Regions from separate parts of the Homo sapiens genome. Here regions 2, 3 and 4 are each linked to region 1. The links are contacts of gene promoters, found by promoter capture Hi-C in blood cells and fetal thymus (Javierre and others, 2016). All regions are on one chromosome and are shown on one strand. Each heading gives the region's core, a stretch centred on a gene start or on the middle of the fragment in contact. The rest is flanking DNA. Distances are from core to core; before and after follow the strand shown. Region 1 holds the start of AGAP2 (ArfGAP with GTPase domain, ankyrin repeat and PH domain 2). Region 2 overlaps R3HDM2 (R3H domain containing 2). Region 3 overlaps ARHGAP9 (Rho GTPase activating protein 9). Region 4 overlaps R3HDM2 (R3H domain containing 2).

Evidence for each region. Contacts are between HindIII fragments. The CHiCAGO score rates a contact against its expected background, and 5 or more counts as called.
Region 2: a fragment that was not itself captured here is called in contact with the fragment with the promoter of AGAP2 in region 1 in 1 of 17 cell types (erythroblasts); the score reaches 5.5 in erythroblasts.
Region 3: a fragment that was not itself captured here is called in contact with the fragment with the promoter of AGAP2 in region 1 in 12 of 17 cell types (total CD8 T cells, naive CD8 T cells, naive CD4 T cells and 9 more); the score reaches 9.2 in total CD8 T cells.
Region 4: a contact is called between a fragment that was not itself captured here and the fragment with the promoter of AGAP2 in region 1, in 1 of 17 cell types (M2 macrophages). The highest score is 5.9, in M2 macrophages.

The regions. Positions count from the first base shown.
Region 1 is chr12:57,736,863-57,740,101 of GRCh38, forward strand. It overlaps AGAP2 (ArfGAP with GTPase domain, ankyrin repeat and PH domain 2), which reads right to left and starts at 1,880. Exons shown (of 19, transcript NM_001122772.3): 1 at 217-1,880. The coding sequence starts at 1,384. RefSeq lists a silencer at 1,033-1,252. The HindIII fragment of the contact is 3,748 bases long and covers 123-3,239 here.
Region 2 is chr12:57,318,513-57,321,771 of GRCh38, forward strand. All of the region lies in intron 2 of R3HDM2 (R3H domain containing 2), which reads right to left. Among named protein-coding and RNA genes, the nearest start is that of STAC3, 69 kb to the left of the region's middle. The HindIII fragment of the contact is 1,306 bases long and covers 1,140-2,445 here.
Region 3 is chr12:57,472,674-57,475,904 of GRCh38, forward strand. It overlaps ARHGAP9 (Rho GTPase activating protein 9), which reads right to left. Exons shown (of 18, transcript NM_032496.4): 10 at 3,160-3,231; 11 at 2,810-2,942; 12 at 2,618-2,725; 13 at 2,202-2,300; 14 at 1,953-2,030; 15 at 1,750-1,803; 16 at 1,369-1,503; 17 at 930-1,035; 18 at 1-15. Among named protein-coding and RNA genes, the nearest start is that of ARHGAP9, 5.6 kb to the right of the region's middle. RefSeq lists an enhancer at 3,228-3,231. The HindIII fragment of the contact is 536 bases long and covers 1,437-1,972 here.
Region 4 is chr12:57,295,464-57,298,442 of GRCh38, forward strand. R3HDM2 (R3H domain containing 2) reads right to left here. Exons shown (of 24, transcript NM_001394031.1): 7 at 2,627-2,705; 8 at 1,865-1,924; 9 at 948-1,088; 10 at 1-44. Among named protein-coding and RNA genes, the nearest start is that of STAC3, 46 kb to the left of the region's middle. The HindIII fragment of the contact is 6,535 bases long and covers 1-2,979 here.

The DNA of each region.
Region 1 (3,239 bases), core at 630-3,129:
CTGAAATCAAGTCCTTTCTCCTGTCGCACAATGTAGCTACTCGCCCCGCTTCAGGACTCCTATTCTTTGCCCCAATCCTTGACAGAGGGGTGAGCTTGGTTCATCCGCCCACCCCAGAGAAAAGCTTCCCTAGTTTCCTGGACCTCGCTCCTCCACCCCAAGCTGAGCATTCCAGGTACCCTTCCCTCCCTGTTCTCAAGCCCTGACTCAACTCACTAGGGGAAGCGCGGAGCTCGGCGCCCAGCAGCTCCCTGGACCCGCTGCCAGAAGACAGGCTGGGGGGTCCGGGAAGGGGCCCGGAGCCAGGAGGCCCTCCTGTGCTCTTGGTGAAGATGCCGCTGATAAACTTGAGCATCTTGCGGTCACGAGTGGATGCTCGGCCCCCCTCCCGGCCCCGTTTCAGCCCCGGAGCTGGAGGCTCCAGAGTGATTGGAGGTGCAGGCCCGGGGGGCTGCGCGGAAGCAGCGGTGACAGCAGTGGCTGGACTCGGAGTTGGTGGGAGGGTTAGCGGAGGAGGAGAGCCGGCAGGCGGTCCCGGATGCAAGTCACTGTTGTCCAAGGTCTTACTCTTGCCTTTCCGAGGGGACAACTTCCCTCGGGCTCCAGCCCCAGCCCCGACCCCACCAGAGGTCGAAGCTGTAGAGCCCCCTCCCCCGGCGGCGGCGGCGGTGGCGGCGGCAGAGACCGAAGCTCCAGTCCCGGCGCTGCTCTTTGACCCCTTGACCCTGGGCTTGCCCTCGCTTTCGGGCCATGACAGGCGGCTACCCGCGCCCTTGCCCCCGCCGGCTTTGGCTCCACTCGTGGTCACGGTCTTGCAAGGCTTGGGAGCCGGCGGAGGAGGCGCCACCTTGAGCCTCCGGCTGCCGGTGCCAGGGTGCGGAGAGGATGAGCCAGGGATGCCGCCGCCCGCCCGGCCTTCGGGCTCCGGGCCGCCCCAGCTCGGGCTGCTGAGCAGGGGGCGCCGGGAGGAGGTGGGGGCGCCCCCAGGCTTGGGGTCGGGGCTCAGTCCCCCGGAGAGCGGGGGTCCCGGAGGGACGGCCCAGAGGGAGAGGCGGCGGCCGGGAGCGGGGGAGACTGGGCGGGCCGGACTGGCCGGAGCCGGGGACAGGGCTGGGGGCTCCGCGCCCCCGGTGCCCGCGCTGCTCGTGCTGATCCACAGCGCATCCTGCCGGTGGAAGAGACGTTCGTGCCGCTTCTTGCCCGGCTCCTCCGCGCCTCGGGGGCTGCCAGGATCCCCAGTCTCGGAGCCTCTGGCACCGGCGGCGCCGGCCGCGGCCGCAGACGGAGAAGGCGGCGGCGGAGGCACCGACTCGAGCTTAACCAGGGTCAGCGAGATGAGGTAGGTCGTTGTCCGGCGCTGAAGCGCGCCCGCGCCCCGGCTCATGGGGCCCGGAGACCCCCGAGCTGGGGAGGGGAGGGGACTCCCCCGGACTGCCTCAGGGGGGCCCGGCCATGGGGCCGCCCTGCTCGCTGCCCCCAGCCCCCGGACCCCGCTGAGCCCCCGGCCCGGCTCCGCTGTCGCCGCCGCCTCCGCCGCCTCCGCTTGCGCCCCCCTCCCATCACATGGGGCGCCCCCTCCCCATGCTCCCCGCCCTGCGCCCCCACCCTCTTGGAGCCCCGGGACCTTGGTGCTGCTCCAGGGAGGCGCGCCGGACCGTCCACCCCGGCCTGGGTGGGGGCGCTGAGATGGGTGGGGGAGGGCGGGGAGGACAGTAGTGGGGGCAAATGGGGGAGAGAGAGGAAAAGGGAGCAGAAAAGGGGACCGGAGGCTAGGGGAAACGAACCTGTGCGGGGGAGGCAGGGGCGGGGAATTGGGACTCAAGGGACAGGGGCCGCGGATGCGGTCGGAAAGAGGGTCTAGAGGAGGGTGGGAAGCTAGTGGGGCTGGCCGTGCGGGGGATTCGCAGGGGCGCGGGGAGGATGCTGGGGATGGAGATACAGGAGGCGGCGGGGGAGGAAAGAGGGAACGGGAGGTGGGTGGGAACCCACGGGTCTGGGGTCTGGGAGGGGAGGGGCGTGAGATCCGGGCGAAGAGTCCGGGGGCCTCGCCTGGGCTCGGCTTGGTCCGGATGCGCGCTGTGTCCGGGCGCTCCCCTCACATTGAGGAGGAGGCGGCCCCCAGGCCCCCCCACCCTATCTCCCCCCCACCTTTTCTCCACCAGCACCGATGTCTGCGAGGGCGGTGCAAAATCCAGGGCTGGATTTCTCTCCCAAATCCTGGGCTGGATTTCCTGGGACTTGGACTCACCTCCTCCAACAACCTAGCCCCCTCCTCTCGCGCACCAAGGTTAGGAAGCGCGATTGTGAGGTATGGCATTTAGGGATAAGGGTGAAAATCGATCTATTGGGTGGACAGGGGCCGCGGTAAACAGAGCAAACCCAGGGTCACTGCCAATTCTGGGGAAGATGAAGTGGGAAAGTGGGGGCCCTGAAATCCCTTCCCCCAGGATCTCTTGTCTCCCCCAGGTACCTGGACGGTTCCCGTTCTCATGACCCAGCTCCCTTTCCCACTCACACCACCACATTTAATACTTTGACGGGGCCAAGACTTGAGCTCGACTGTCCCAAAGTGAACTTGGAAAATGTTCCCCAGGGATGGGGACAAACATGGAACTTAGCAGGGTAGGAGAGAAGGGAGAGATCTGAGTGCTGGAGGAGCCCAGGCCACAGGGTAAGTCAAAGGCTCCAGCTCTAGGAGGAGGGAGAAGGATGTGTCTTAGACTGATACCCCCCCATGCCAAAATGCATCCAGTCTCCATAGCAACCGTAGCTCCAAGAGTGCCTCAGAAACAGCGGGCAGAAGCAGAGAGGAATCCGTGTGTATGGTGGGTAGGGGACCAACCGCGGGATGCTGAATTAGTGGAGGCACTGCCCTGACACCTGGCTACCCACAGGTGGAGGATTTCACTCCCCAAGTATAAGGACCCTTCAGTTGAGGCAGTGAGAGCCGGCCTCTTCAGGGTTCCCTTTCAGTCTCCTGAGGTTTGCTGAGTGGGATTCTTTCAGAAGATTAAAGAGGAGGCAGGCAGAGTGAATGGAAACCGTCTGCTCCGTGTCCCCCACCCCTCTAGGGGTCTTGGAGTTCAAGGCTCTCTATCCTCCAGCCAGGTGAGAATCCTGAAGTGGTTAGGCCAAAGTGGAAAAGAGGTTGAGACCCCTTGGGGGTGGGGTAAGATGGGCGAAGGAAGGTCTCTCTGCAGCCTTGGAGACCCCTTCCCGGGACTTGGGGAGTCACAGCA
Region 2 (3,259 bases), core at 543-3,042, 420 kb before region 1:
GTGGTGTGTGCCTTAGTCACAGCTTCTCAGGAGCCTGAGGCAGAAGAATCGCTTGAACCTGGGAGGCGGAGGTTGTGGTGAGCTGAGATCGTGCCACCGCACTCCAGCCTGGGCAAACAAGCGAGACTCCATCTCAAAAAAAAAAAGAAAGAAAAGAAAAAAGAAAGAAAGAAATAACTGACAGGGAGACAGGCAATAATAATAATAATCAGCTAAAACTTTTGAGTGCTTACATTGTGCCAGGCACTATCCTAAAATATTTTATGTATCTCATTTAATCTTACAATGATCCTATTACATATTTATTCTTACTATTATCACCATTTTACAGACAAGTAAACTGAGGCACAGAGAAGTTAAACACTTTGCTTAAAAGGGCACACAACTGGCATATGGCAGAGCCAGGACTCAAATCCAGAAAATCTGGCTTTGTTACTTGCTTTCTTAAACTTTATACAATACTGCCTCTAACTAAGGGGAGAAATAGTCAAAAACCAGAAAGGAAAGTCTACCAAAGACACAAGGGAATCATGGAATCTCATAACTGTAAGGGTATTTAGAAGCTTTCTCATTCTCCATTTTTCTTTTTCTTTTTTTTGAGATGGAGTTTCGCTCTATTGCCCAGGCTGGAGTGCAAGCGGCATGATCTCGGCAACCTCCGCCTCTCGGGTTCAAGCAATTTCCGGCTAATTTTTGTACTTTTAGTAGAGAAGGGGTTTCACCATGTTGGCCAGGCTGGTCTCGAACTCCTGACCTCAAGTAATCTGCCCGCCTCAGCCTCCCAAAGTGCTAGGATTACAGGCGTGAGCCACTACGCCCAGCCTTAGCTCCATTTTTCTACAACCGTAGTCTTCCATAATTAGGTTCTTAACTCATTAGTAACTGTGAAAAATGTCCCTGCTTGTATACCTCTTAGTGAAGGGAAAGTCTTCACCTCCAGAAAGAAACCATTTCTTTTTGGAACACTTTCCTTTTAAAGAGGCAAAATTTACCTCTTTGGTAGTTCCTCCCACCGGCCCCTGTTTAGCCTTCTGTGCGAGTCATAAAGAACAAGCTTAATCTTGCTTCCCTATCAGCTCTTTGTAAAAGAAAACTTTACCTTATTTCCTTCTCTAAACATTCCCAGCTTCTTTAAGTCAAGCTTTCAAATCACATGGCTTTAAGTCTCCTTACCATTTTCTTCTAGGATAAAAGAAACTGCCCTGAAAGTAGGCAGAGGCGAGTAATGAGGGGTCAGACTGTTACTAATACAGAGTTAAGATCCACTGGAAGATAAACTAAGCATAAAACTGTATTTCTTAGGCTGAGGCTCTCTTTTGCTTTCCAAAATAACCTTTAATTAAGGTCATTTCCAGTCCTTTCAGCCAATGCAGAAGGCTCTCGTTACTCTTGGGGCATAAAGATTCCTGGAAACAATTTTTTCTGGGCCAAAACAAAAGCAAAAGAAAGCAACCAACTAAAAAAAGCCTTAGGCTGGGCGTAGTGGCTCACGCCTGCAATCCCACCACTTTGGGAGGCGGGCGGATCACTGAGGTCAGGAGTTTGAGATGAGCCTGGCCAACACGGTGAAACCCCGTTTCTACTAAAAATACAAAAAATTAGCTGGGGGTGGTGGTGCGTGCCTGCTAATCCCAGCTACTCAGGAGGCTGAAGCAGGAGAATCGCTTGAACCCGGGAGGTGGAGGTTGCAGTGAGCCAAGACTGCTCCACTGCACTCCAGCTTGGGCAACAAGAGTGCAACTCTATCTCAAAAAAAAAAAAAAAAAAAAAAAAAAAGCCTTAAACAGCTAAAATAAAGCCAGTAGTAGCTTAAAAGGCAGAGAAGTAATTCCATTCTTAATAGTTTATTTGGTATAGAGAAGAAATTAAGGGTTTGGGAGGTTTTTGATGGGAGAAGAAAGGAACTACTTCATATGTAATGGTGACTAGAACAAAGCAGACATTAGGCTCCCAGGAGGGCCTAGATGTGTGCTTCCCTACAACCTATTTGTGTACAGTGTACATTTCATCCAGCCAAATAGTACAATTTCAAAGGCAAGATGTCTCCTGAGGATACTCAGTAGCTCAAAGCTGCACAGAGGGGACTGTGAGATGTCGGGGGAACAGGTGGGGCAGTGAAGAAATAGGATAATACAGGGGAAGATTATTGGAAGCCAAGATTCACCTATTTTTTTCAGGGAGAATACTGCATATTCCCTATAATTTTTTTTACTGCTAGGGTAAGTACCTTCCATAATAGAGTGAGATTATATATCCTTCCATCAATTTATAAACAACTTTCTAGGCATTGAGCCAAAAGGAATATGTTAGATAGGGGATATTCAGAGACAGAAGAATAATTTCATTTTCTCACTTTTAATCTATGGCCAAGTAGAGAGAATGCAAGCAAGACAACGATATCTAGGTGCTAAAAATTCTGGTCTACCCTGTGGCAAATTCCTTGGAAGCTTTCCGGTCCTGTACTAATTTGTTTATCAATCATAAGTTACTCTCAATTGATACATTTTAAAAAATGTTTAAAATCTAGGGGCTCAGGAGAATAAACAAATGTAATATTATTTAATAATAAAAAAGACTGAACTATAGGCTGAGCATCCCTAATGAGAAAATCTGAAATCTGAAAGAGTACAAAATCCAAAGCTTTTTGAGCACCAATATGATGCTCAAGGGATGTACATAGGAACATTTCCAATTTTGGGTTTTGGATTATGGATGGTCAACCATAATATTCCAAAATTTAAAAAAATTTCCAAAATCCAAAAAATCTTAAATCTGAAATACAGACAGTCCCAAGCATTTTGGGTAAAGGTTGCTCAACCTTACTGTACATACTGAGACACACAAAAACATGGATAGGGCCGGGCACAGTGGCTCATGCCTGTAATCCTAGCACTTTGGGAGGCCAGGTTGGGTGGATCACCTGACGTCAGGAGTTCGAGACCAGCCTGACCAACATGGTGAAACCCCGTCTCTACTAAAAATGCAAAAATTAGCCGGGTGTGGTGGTGGCATGCCTGTAATCCCAGCTACTCGGGAAGCTGAGGCAGAAAAATTGCCTGAACCGGGAGGCAGAGGTTGCAGTGAGCCAAGAACGGGCCATTGCACTCCAGGCTGGGCAACAAGAGCGAAACTCCGTCTTGGAAAATAAAACAAAACAAAACAAAAGCATGGATGGATCTCAAAACTACTATGATAAATTAAAGAAAGTAGACTCTCCTCCCCACCCCCTGCCACCAGAACACATACTATAATAGTCTAT
Region 3 (3,231 bases), core at 455-2,954, 260 kb before region 1:
GAGTGTGCTATCACCCTGTAAGCAAAGGCCAAGGAAGGGGATATATGGCAGCAGCTTGCCACTTCATAGCAATCTAACTAACCCTTCAAAGTTCTGAGCAGGGAAGAGTTCACTCTGGGATTCCTCCACATGGTAACAAAAAAACCAAGGAGATACAAGGAGAATGGAGATGGACCAGTGGAGAAACCTTCAGGATACAACCTGAAGATATAACTGCCTCTTCCGACTTCAGGGGCTGCCCCAAGAGTTCTGCCTGCTCACAGTTTGGGAGTCTTTAATTCAAGTGGCCATCCTCTCTCAGAAGTCACTGCCCAGGCCCAGTTCAACCAAAGAAGCCATCAGCAATGTCCCAATGGGAGACAAAGAGGCAGAGGGAAGGGAGAAGTAAGATTTCCCTTATTCCTTTCACAGCATCTTGGTTCCATTTCCCCACTTGATGCTGACCTTTAGGTTTTGACCTAAAGTCTTTGACGGGCACGGTGTAATCCCAGCACTTTGGGAGGCTGAGGTGGGTAAATCACCTGAGGTCAGGAGTTCGAGACCAGCCTGGCCAACATGGTGAAACCCCGTCTCTACTAAAAATACAAAAATTAGCCAGGCGTGGTGGCGGGCACCTGTAATCCCAGTTACTCAGGAGGCTGAGGCAGGAGAATTACTTGAACCCGGGAGGCAGAGGTTGCAGTGAGCTGAAATTGCGCCACTGCACTCCAGTCTGGGTGACAGAGCGAGACTCTGTCTCAAAAATAAATAAAATAAAAAAATAAAGGTTTTGACTCTGGTAATATGCTCCTGCACAGAGGTTGCCTGCTTCCTCACCTGCCCATTAAACTTAGGTGCTTCCCTACCTTCACTCCACCTGCACAGAGTCCCTGTGGCATTCCCCACTCCACCTTTCCCCAGCATGAACAAAGAGGTTCTGTCTTCCTGACCTGCATAAATGCTCCAGGAGGTACCGTAGAGTGTCATGGTTGGGCTTTGGCATTGAGCCTATTAATTCTTGTATCTGAGAGAGGCACTGCTCTGATTCGGAGAGTGCTAGAGAGAGTGATGGGAAAGGCATGGTAGTAAGGTTAGGGAAGGTGCTAGGACAGGATGGGTAAATGCACTGCTCTTTCCCACAGGCATGGAAGACATCATTAATCTAGCACAGCTTTCTTTTTCACATAGCCCAACTATAGCCTCATAATTCTTTTCAATTCAGCCCTCTAAACATTCACAAAAAAGCAACTGGAGTAGGCACCTGAGTTGAACATTATTTTCCATCTCTAAAGTCAGAATGGGAAAGAAGAGTATAAGGGAACCTCTATTCTATTATTTACCACCCGTGTCCCCCACATCAAGGGTTCTTTCCAAAGCTCCAACCCTTACCAAGGGCAGCACGGAAATGGGGCAGCAGCAGTGGTGGCACCAGAGGCTGGGGCAGCTCCCGGAGAAAAAGCTTCAGGGCTCCGGTGACCACATGAATGTCATCCCACTCAGTACTGTCCAAATCTAACCGACCTTCTGGAGGGAGAAGGAGGTATAGGGGCTCATGAAGGGCCAGAAAGATTTAGAGACTGAGAGATTAGAAGTTCTGGAGAAATCCAGTCAAAGCAGACTATAGGAATGCCTAGAGGGTCTGCAGTGGGGCAAGGTAGCTAAGGTGGGGATGAGGACAACCCTCCCAGGAATAGTACATGGGGGTTTCCACGGGAAGCAAAGAGGATATGTGGAAGTTTTAGGGATCTGAAGGGTCTTCCATGTAAGTACCTTGTCCTGGCTGTTCTGGGAACACATACCTCCCATCGGAGGTGACCGCACGCTCTGCAACATGAATGAGGAGAGATCAGGAGCTAAGACATACACTTCCAGCCTGACGGCCTCTCTATTCTGCCAGCTTCCTCATGTAGGACCGCCCATGGTTCTCAGGCAAGACATTCTTAGTACAACCACTGGCCCACAAGCCTTCTCACCTCTGTCCACCAGAAAGCGAAGCTTCTGGACCACTGCCAAGTTCCCGCTCACCCGATAAATGCCATCCACATCTAGACCTGGGAGATGAGGAAGGAGTAGATAAGGACTGCTGCTTGAAAGTGTGTGTGGTGAGGGATATAAGGGTGGAGAGAAAAAGGGCAGTAGGAAGACTAGGTAGAATGGGGGAGGCAGAAAATTCTAGGCCTTAGCCTGTTGGAAGAGGATTCTGGGGTCTCTGAGAAAATGACCTCTTTTATCCACAGCAGCAATGCAGAGCCGCAAAAAGCTGGGCACCGTGTCTCCTTCCCGCTGGCAGAGTGATTCCAACTGGCAGCCGAACACCTGGTCTGGGGAAGTAGAGTGAGGCGGGAAGCCAGTGCCAGCGTCACTCACAGGAGCTCTTCTCAGCATAGGTCTTTATCCTTAAGTGAGGCTGGTCCTCCTGGCTGCCTGTGCCAGGCCTGGGCAAGGAAATACACTCCACCTCCCTTCCCCTGCTTCAAACAATCTGGCAAAGGGGTACAGGTCACCCCAGCTTCTCCCCTAAACAATCTGGGGTAGTGGGAAAGCAGCAGTCACAGAAGGTTGTGGTCTAGTTCTGGGAAGCTCTACTCTGAGCCTCGCTGGAGTTTTCTTATCCATGAACCTGGCCCAGCCCCCTCACCTCGGAGCAGACCCCGCTCCTGCAGGCTTTGTAAGGGCGGTCTCTTCGCGATGAGCCGCTTTAGTTTGTTGCGCACGCGGTTCTGCTCGGTGCCTTCGGGCCCCCGAACTGCAGGAGGCAGGTAGAGCGGGGCGTGAGCGCCCGGGAGCCTCGCTGCGCTCCCGGACTCTCCCTCCCCAGCCCGCGCCTCACTGGAGCTCCGGCGGCTGCTGAGGCGCAGCAGCGGCTTGGACACCAGCTCCGACTCCTCTTCTTCGTCCTCCCCGGCGCTCAGCTCCGCGGGTCCAGAGCCCGACAGACGCAGCTCCAGGGGGTTCTCCCGATCCTAGACCCGGGGCGGGCCGTGTCGAAGGTGAGAGAGGAGAGAAATCTGTATCCCTAGCTGGACTCTGACCCACTGCCGGGGTCCCACATCCCGGCCCAGGCAAGGGCTCTCCACTGAGCCCACCCTGCCCCCAACTGCTCCTGACTCCTATCGTTCCTACCCCACTCCCTTGGTCCCGGCCGGTCGGAGCCTCCCTCCGGGCCTCCACCCATCTAACCAGCCGCTCGATGACAGTCCGCAGCGCGCGGTGCCAGGCTCGCAGCTCTGTCTCGTGGTCCGACTGCAGCAG
Region 4 (2,979 bases), core at 276-2,775, 440 kb before region 1:
TATTCTTCTCATCCTTTATATGTTCTGAGAACCTCTGTTCAGGGCTGAGATTTGGAGAGAAATGTGAAAGGAAAGGAGGACAAAGACCGTTTTGTTAGGAAGCAGACCTATTAGGTACAGCTCTCCTAAATTACACAACTCACACTCAGGGAATTTCTGGAGTAAGGAATCCAAAAAGTCACATGCAGGTTTTAATGAAATCTTCAGGGTCTGTACTTTATACATCTATAACTTCTCTTCCTCCATAGTTATATCTGTCCTATCAGTGAAGTGAAGAGAGGCTAGGGCCAGACTTCATGAAACATCAGTCTCTCTAGAATCTATCTCCAAGGCTCAGAAAGAGTAGGAATTAATTATATAACCAACCCCAACCCCAATCCCCTTCCCTGCAAAATACTTAAAAAAATTTTTTTTGTTTGTTTTTTGAGATGGAGTCTCACTGTATTGCCCAAGCTGGAGTGCATGGCGTGATCTTGGCTCACTCCAACCTCTGCCACTGGGGTTCAAGTGATTCTCCTGCCTCAGCCTCCCGAGTAGCTGGGATTACAGGCGCCTGCCACCGCGCCCGGCTAATTTTTGTATTTTTAGTAGAGACGGGGTTTCACCATCTTGGCCAAGCGGGTCTTGAACTCCTGACCTTATGATCCACCCGCCTCGGCCTCCCAAAGTGCTGGGATTACAGGCGTCAGCCACTGCGCCCGGCCATTTTTAAACTTTTTTTTTTTTTTTAAAGTAATAGAGATGGGATCTTGCTGTGTTGACCAGGCTGGTCTCGAACTCCTGGCTTCAAGCAGTCTTCCCATCTTGGCCTCCCAAAGTGCTGGGATTACAGGTGTGAGCCACCACGCCTGGCCATCTGCAAGAGACATCCTGATCCTACACCTTCCTCTTCCAACCCAGCAGGTTATCCCAGGGAAGTCTTCCCAAACCATGGTTTCCTCCCTTACATTCTTGTGTTACTAGTTTTGTTGATGATGACAGCTTTCCCAGTTTGATCAACATTGTGGTCCATCCCAAAATAGGCAGCTACCCGGTGTAATAGCATCCGGTGATATGAGGTCATCTGAGGGAACTTCTTGAACTGATTACTGAAGGGAAACCCGGGGAAAAAAAGTGAAATAAGACAAACAACTGCAATAACAACCAATTTTAATTTTTCTTACAAGTGTCTAAAGTGGAAAGTTTCTTAGGAGAAATAGACATATTATAAGGAATATAGATATTTACTAAATGGGAACCAAATAGGTTTTTCTCAGTTTCTTTATCTACAGTATTCTGCAGATTACTATGACCTACTTTCCTCATTAAGACTACTCATTGCTGGGTGCAGTGGCTCATGCCCGTAATCCCAGCACTTTGGGAGGCCAAGGCAGGCGGATCAATTGAGTTCAGGAGTTCAAGACCAGCCTGGTCAACATGGTGAAACCCCGTCTCTACAAAAAATACAAAAATTAGCTAGGCATGTGCCTGTCATCCCAGCTACTCAATGGCTGAGGCACAAGAATCACTTGAACCCAGGAGGCAGAATTGCAGTGAGTCAAGACTGTACCACGGCGCTCCAGCCTAGGCGACAAAGAAAGACTGTCTCAAAAAAAAGACTACTTATTAAGCCCTAGGTCCCACCCACCTGGATGATGTTTGACAAAGAAAAAGGAAGACATTTAAGAACAGTAAAATCTGGGACAAGTGCAAGCTGCTGAAAAGATATAAATTATTTTTCAACTCAAATCTACATAATAACTTAAAAACTTCAGTATGTTTTCAAAAATCACACTTCAAGGGGAACATCTCCTAAAATTGTACCTAAATTTATTTCCAGTGCCCCCTCCCACCTCTAATTATATATTTCATGCAAGTAACTTACTTGTTGTCATTAATAAATTCCAGAATCTCCTGTTCTAATTTTAGCAGCATCATTCTGTCCCTGTTTAAAAAAGATTAAAACAAAACAAAACAAAACAAAAAGCAGCCCTCCCATAGACATTGAAAGTGGGGATTGAAAACACAACTTGCTCATTACAGAAGCTGAAAAAGGTATATATCCAAACCCAGTAATGAACCATAATGCTGCTAAGCCTCACTTGCCTGTTTTACAATATTTTTAAAAAGAAAAACAACCCGAGTATACATTTTGCAGGTCCTCCAATCATATACTTTGTTATACCATATCAGAAATCTCACTGTTAACAACATATTCATATAAACACACGTTATAAATCTAATCGTCATTCTGTATTCCATCTTGTTATAAACAATTTTAAAGGAATTATAATTTAGCTTATGTACAAATCAATTATTTTTTCCTTCTGTGCTTTTTATTTTAGCTCTTCTTACTATCACTCCCAATGTGTGCTTTTTAATCAGTATACTCCCAAGACTTCATATTTCTTTGTTTCTGCATTCTTCTTTCACAGAAGTTTTCCCAATTCTTCTGAAAACAGAAACCTCAATGTGAGAGTATTTTGAATCCCTCACAGAATATAAAACTATACCTGACAAATACTAGGGGGACAGGAAGATGAGCATCCTAGATTCTAAGAATGGAAAAATTCTGGGAAGCCGTTTGGCCTCTTGGAATCTTGCTATCCCCTAACCCCTTTTCCTCTTATACCCATCATGTTATTACCTTGGGTTCTTTTTCAGTGTATTTACAAGAAATTCATGTAGGTCTATTCCAGTGGAGTCCGTATATTCCTGGCTGGAGTCTAGAACCACCACAACAAAAGAAATTAAAATACATGAAACTGCTTTGCATGCTATCTAATCCTAAGCAGAAGTCCACAACCTAACCAGGAGAAAAAAGAATAGGAAAGCAAAATCAAACTTCCAGGGTTTTAACATAAAATCCAGAATGACCTTGATGTGCTAGATCCCAAAATTCCTCATCAGAATGACAGAAGAAAGAATCTGGGCCATAGTATTACATCAATATTACACTGAAAAGCCATCTATCATCAATAGGTATTTACTGAATGTCCT